2 separate regions of the Homo sapiens genome follow, and region 1 is linked to region 2. Evidence: promoter capture Hi-C in 16 types of primary human blood cells and fetal thymus (Javierre and others, 2016). All regions are on one chromosome and are shown on one strand. The core of a region is centred on a gene start or on the middle of the fragment in contact, and the rest is flanking DNA. Distances in the headings are between cores, read along the strand shown. Region 1 overlaps CREBRF (CREB3 regulatory factor). Region 2 holds the start of BNIP1 (BCL2 interacting protein 1).

Region 1 (3,149 bases), core at 131-2,630, 84 kb before region 2:
AGACGGGGTTTCACCATGTTAGCCAGGACGGTCTCGATCTCCTGACTTCGTGATCCGCCCCCCTCGGCCTCCCAAAGTGCTGGGATTACAGGCGTGAGCCACCGCGCCCAGCCTCTTTTTTTTTTTTTTTTTTTTTTTTTTTAAGACGGAGTCTCCGTCTGTCGCCCAGGCTGGAGTGCAATGGCACGATCTCGGCTCACTGCAACCTCCGCCTGCCGGGTTCTAGCAATTCTCCTGCCTCAGCCTCCCGAGTAGCTGCGACTACAGGCGCGTGCCACCATGCCTGGCTAATTTTTTGTGTTTTTAATAGAGACGGGGTTTCACCACGTGCTGGTCAGGCTGGTCTCGAACTTCTGGCTTTAGGTGATCCACCCACCTCAGCTTCCAAAGTTCTGGGATTACAGGTGTGAGCTACTGCGCCCGGCCTGATTCATCAATTTTTGTAGTACTTTGGCATGACTGACTCAGTTCTGTTAATAATGATACATAAAAACGTAATCCCTGATTATTTGATAAACTTGAATTCTTACGTATAACTTTTGCAGTAAATAAGGGTATTAGCTTATTTATCAGTTCTTCTTTTTCTTTTTTTTCTTTTTTTTTTTTTTTTGAGACGGAGTTTCGCCCTTGTCGCCCAGGCTGGAGTGCAGTGGGAAGATCTCGGCTCACTGCAATCTCCGCCTCCCGGGTTCAAGCAATTCTCCTGCCTGAGCCTCCTGAGTAGCTGGGATTACAGGCGCCCACCACCACGCCCGGCTAATTTTGTATTTTTAGTAGAGACGGGGTTTCACCATGTTGGCCAGACTGGTCTTGAACTCCTGACCTAAGGTGATCTGCCTGCCTTGGCCTCCCAAAGTGCTGGGATTACAGGCGTGAGCCACCGCGCCTGGCCTATCAATTCTTATTTTATCAGGTGGCATTGTGTTGCTTTTGGAACCCTAGCCCTTACAATGCCCTAATTAGTTTAACAGAGAAGTATAGTGAAAATAAAAATAAACACTTTTCATTGATACTTAGAATATTCCAGGCAGTTTTCACTGTTGCATCGGTTGATAAAGTCAATCAGCATTGCTTATATAATGCTCTCTTATTCTAAGAATGGCAAATAGATGCAATAGAACTTATTTGGGTATAATTCCTTCATATGACTGGTATATCAGCTTTGGGTTTTTTATATTCATAAGCATAGAAGAGGCTAAATAGCTCCCGAAGAGAGTCTGGATGCTCCATTTACCATCATTCTCTGTCATGGCAGGTGAAAGCAAGCTTTTATATAGACAATGTTCTACTTAGTTTACAGGGTGTCTACTTAGTTTACAGGGTGGATGTGTGTGGGTTCTGGGATACTAGTGTAAGAAGTAAAGGAATAACTAGCATGGTTCCTGGTGGTGGTTAAATACAAGTGACAGTGAAGTACAGTAAGTTTGTGTGTTGATTCTGTTAATATAACTCAGTTTTTAAAAGATAAAGAGAACTGAAATCACTGTTTGCTTTTAAAGCTTAATTTTCAGTCAAGATCGGCATCTATATATTTATTTAAAAAATACATATATATATATATGTTTTTTTTTTTTTTTGAGACGGAGTCTAACTGCGTTGCCCAGGTTGGAGTCCGGTGGCGTGATCCTGGCGCACTGCAACCTCCGTTTCCTGGGTTCAAGCGATTATCCTGCCCCAGCCTCCCGAGTAGCTAGGATTACAGGCGTGCACCGCTATGCTCAGCTAATTTTTGTATTTTCAGTAGAGACAAGGTTTCACCAAGTTGGCCAGGCTGGTCTTGAACTCCTAATCTTAAATGATCCGCCCGCATTGGCCTCCCAAAGAGCTGGGATTACAGGTATGAGCCACCGTGCCCCCTCTAGTTATGTGATTTTGAAATGAATTAGCAGTCGCTTGTTTCCAAGTAGGGTTGAACTTGGATTTTTTTGAGGAACAATTCACTGACACTTTCACCATATTCAGTAGCTCATTTCGGGATAGGTAAACTCTTAGACGAGACATAAATTTGTCAGATAATTGGTTCTGATTATTTTAAGACAAGGGTTGACAGACTTTTTTTTTTTTTTTGGAACAGGATCAAATAGTTAATATTTAGGCTTTTTCAGCCTTCCAGTCTCTGCCACAACTACTCAACTTTGAATCTGTAGCATGGAAACAGCTGTAGAAAATATGTTCTACATATTTTTGGGCTCTATTCCAATAAAACTTTATTTACAAGGTCAGGCTGTGCCTCTATTTGTGCTTCCACGGCTATAGTTTGTCAGCCCCTGTTGTAAGACATCAGTCATTGAGGTTTTTTGTTTGTTCGTTTTTTGAGACAGAGTCTAGTTCTGTCCCCCCTGCTGGAGTGCAGTGGCACGATCTCGGCTCACTGCAACCTCCGCCTCCCGGGTTTAAGCGATTCTCCTGCCTCAGCCTTCTGAGTAGCTGGGATTACAGGCGCCTGCCACCGTGCCCAGCCAAGTTTTGTATTTTTAGTAGAGACGGGGTTTCACTGTGTTGGCCAGGCTGGTCTCAATCTCCTGACCTCCTGATCTGCCCGCCTCAGCCTCCCAACGTGCTGGGATTACAGGCGTGAACCACCACATCTGGCCCAGTCACTGAGTTTTAAGTACTTAGATGTTAAGGTATTTCAGAATATACAAATAGACACTTTAGGTACATTTGAGCATTTGCAGATTGTACAGTCTCCTGCCTTGAAGAGAATTTTTAGTACAAGAGCATATGGCAACATTGTATTTTGTATTTTTCCTTCGTTTACATATAAATGTTTTCTTGAAAAGCTGTTTAAAGCAAATATTGGTATAAATCCTGTTGATTTTAGAGATGCAGTCTGATTGAAAAAACTTTGGCCCTAAGATATATTCAGGATATGGTCCTCTTGAAGTTTCAAAGCACATTTAGCATATAATCCTTAACAAAGCTGTATAGCTGTTTCAAGAGATGATAGTCACGTGAATAGTCAACACATGTAGTTCTTATATTCAAATATGCAGTTAATTTAGAAGTTAAGACATTGAGTGCTCATTGCCTGAGATGCTTGAAGAATTAAAGAGAGTAGGATGCTTTTTCCAGGCCCAAAAAGATACAGGTTACCTCCTCTCTTTTTCCAGGGAAAATGTCAAGTCGTGCTAAGTGCCTAGTGAAGC
Region 2 (2,934 bases), core at 115-2,614:
CTTTCAAGATAGGTAATCTTGCAACAGGGTTGATTGTTTTTTGTTTTAATTTACTCTAAGCCCTACTCCTGATCTGTGATAATAGTGTAGTACAATTTCAAGGGTGGTTGTGAGGATTAAGAGAGATGAACATGGTCGGGCACAGTGGCTCACGCCTGTAATCCCAGCACTTTGGGAGGCCGAGGCGGGTGGATCACGAGGTCAGTTCGAGACCAACCTGACCAATATGGTGAACCCCGTGTCTATGAAAAATACAAAAATTAGCTGGGCATGGTGGCACGCACCTGTAATCCCAGCTACTCAGGAGGCTGAGGCAGGAGAATTGCTTGAACCTGGGAGGTAGAGTTTGCAGTGAGCCAAGATTGTGCCATTGCACTCCAGCCTGGGCAACAGAGCGAGACTCCGCCACAAAAAAAAAAAAAAAAAAAGAGAGAGAGATGAACATTCAAGTCCTAAGCCTTTAGGTCCTCACAATCTATGCTTGCTGAAGTGACCCGAACAAATGCAGATGGAGTGGGGTCGAGTGGGGGAAACGCTTTCTAGGGAGAGGGAACACCACATTCTAAGGCTACACATCCAGAAGGAGCTTGAGCAATCCAGGAAGGGCGCAGGGTGCGGTGGCTGATGGCCGGGGTGGCTGATGGCCTTGAGGACCAGCTAAGAAACTTGGATTATTTACTAACAAAAATAAAAGAGCCACCATTTGTTGAGGGTTTGCTCTGACATTTCCATCAAAACTACCTTAGCAAGGTAGATTTAATAAATCCAGTTGTATACAAAAGGGAAACACGAGAAGCCATAGAAGGGCTGCATACAGGTAGGTGACTTGATCAATTTCGTGTTTTACAAAGATCCCTTAGATCATGTGTTGGAGTGATAGGAGGTACTCTACCGACCTGCCTTGAACTCCATACTTTAAAAAATATATGACGTTTATCATTTCCTCTTTTACTCCACAATTTATACTCACTGTAGAAAATATTAAAAATATAAGAAAGTTTGAAGAAACAAAAAATTATTACTGGTACTTTCCAGAGACATCTCAATTGATACTTTTCTTCCAGTCTTTTTTTTTCTATGTAAAAAATATATAGTTATTAGAATGCCTGACAGAAGGAAGATGGAAAGAGACCACTGTGAAGCGTTCTTGATATTCCCTCTTCCCTTCCTCTCCATGTTATTAGGGCCATACCAAGAGGAGAGGCTGATTTCCCTACACGTGTCAGGGAAAGTCCCAACTCTGCGCAGTGACCCTCGCTTGCCATTTTCGCCGGTCTCTAGGGGGCGCTGCCCCGAGACTGGGTGGGGAGGGAAAGAAGGTGGTGCGAAAACGCGTTTGAACTTGGGTCCTGCCGCTGCCCGTAGCCGGCGTCCCCAACATGGCGGCTCCCCAAGACGTCCACGTCCGGATCTGTAACCAAGAGATTGTCAAATTTGACCTGGAGGTGAAGGCGCTTATTCAGGTACTGATCCCGGGACCCCTGCCGGGCTCCAGCAGCCCTAACCCAAGCTCTGCTGGTCTGTGAGCTTGGCAGTGTCACTCCCGAACTTTCCCCACTTGGTTTCCCAGACCACAGGCTCCGCCCCATGGTCGGCTACCCCCCCGGTCCCCATTTGGTTGTGTCCCGGTGACTGCTGGCCTTGATCCTTTTTCCGGGTGCCGCCGGATCTCCCATCCCCAGAGCACCCCACTGTTCTCCGCCCCTGACTCAGCTACTGCTTCGGGGCTCGGCTTTGCCCCTTCCACCTGCAGCCCTGGTCGTCGCCCCGCCCCTGACTACCTCACAACCTACCTGTCACCCTGCTTGGCCCCGCCCTCTGACGCTGCTTCAGCATCCTCTGGTAGCGTCCGGGAGGCAGCTAGCCCCGCCCCCTGCTGGCCAGCTCTCCTGGCATCCAAGGCCACCTGGCACGGGAGGCACCGGGTGAAACGAATGTAACCTGGACCGTAGTTGTGATTTTATGCTTGAGGAAATCGAGTACGGCGCCAAGGCCTAGGTTAGAAGGCATACCTGGGTCAGTGGCAAAACTGGGACCTGGACTGTGAAAGTCAACCTAGGAATAACACCTTAGAGTGTTACCCCGTTTGAACAGATAGGAAATGAAGTGTTTCGCCTTAAGCCATTTAAGGGTAGAGGTAAAATAAACGAGTGGACTTAGGCAAGAATTGGGAGTGTAGACACGGTTCCATGAGTTCAGCAAAAAGAAACCGAGTTTTAAACCTTGTTTTTGCTTGTTTGTTTTTGTTTTTTTGAGACGGAGTCTCGCTCTGTCGCCCAGGCTGGAGTGCAGTGGCGCGATCTCGACTCGCGGCAAGCTCCGCCTCCCGGGTTCCCGCCATTCTCCTGCCTCAGCCTCCTGAGTAGCTGGGACTACAGGCACCCGCCACCACGCCCGGCTAATTTTTGTGTTTTGCTTAGTAGAGACGGGGTTTCACCGTGTTAGCCAGGATGGTCTCGATCTCCTGACCTCGTGATCCGCCCGCCTCGGCCTCCCAAATTGCTGGGATTACAGGCGTGAGCCACCGCGCCCGGCCTAAACCTTGGTTTTTAAAAATAATCATTTTCAACAAAGTCACTAAACATTAGATGTAGACTCAGAGTTTGTAACAAGGTGTGGCAAAAAGTGCAGGAAAATAGGGCTCCCCAGATAAACCAGATGCAGAATAAACCAAATTAGATGCAGAATAAACAAATACGGTGCAAAGAAGTGTGATTAAATGAATAAGCCAGAGAAAAAGTGAAATTTGATGCAGATATTTAAAACTTCTTGAACTTCACTTCTCTGATGTATACATTACAAAACTTCTGGGCCAATTATAGAAAAATAAACAGGTTTCATACAAATGAAATTACATTTTCACATAATCTAAATTGCTTAGGCATTCTTCTGTACTCTTTCTAACATTTGGGTTCTTGTCATTGCTGATGAGAA

The links. The method cuts DNA at HindIII sites, captures the fragments that hold promoters and counts their contacts. A CHiCAGO score of 5 or more calls a contact.
Region 1: a contact is called between a fragment that was not itself captured here and the fragment with the promoter of BNIP1 in region 2, in 5 of 17 cell types (naive CD4 T cells, naive CD8 T cells, total CD8 T cells and 2 more). The highest score is 7.8, in naive CD4 T cells.

What each region holds. Positions count from the first base shown.
Region 1 is chr5:173,058,672-173,061,820 of GRCh38, forward strand. All of the region lies in intron 1 of CREBRF (CREB3 regulatory factor), which reads left to right. Among named protein-coding and RNA genes, the nearest start is that of CREBRF, 3.9 kb to the left of the region's middle. The HindIII fragment of the contact is 233 bases long and covers 1,265-1,497 here.
Region 2 is chr5:173,143,167-173,146,100 of GRCh38, forward strand. It overlaps BNIP1 (BCL2 interacting protein 1), which reads left to right and starts at 1,365. Exons shown (of 6, transcript NM_001205.3): 1 at 1,365-1,463. The coding sequence starts at 1,380. RefSeq lists enhancers at 1,558-2,086, 2,028-2,097. The HindIII fragment of the contact is 7,780 bases long and covers 1-2,934 here.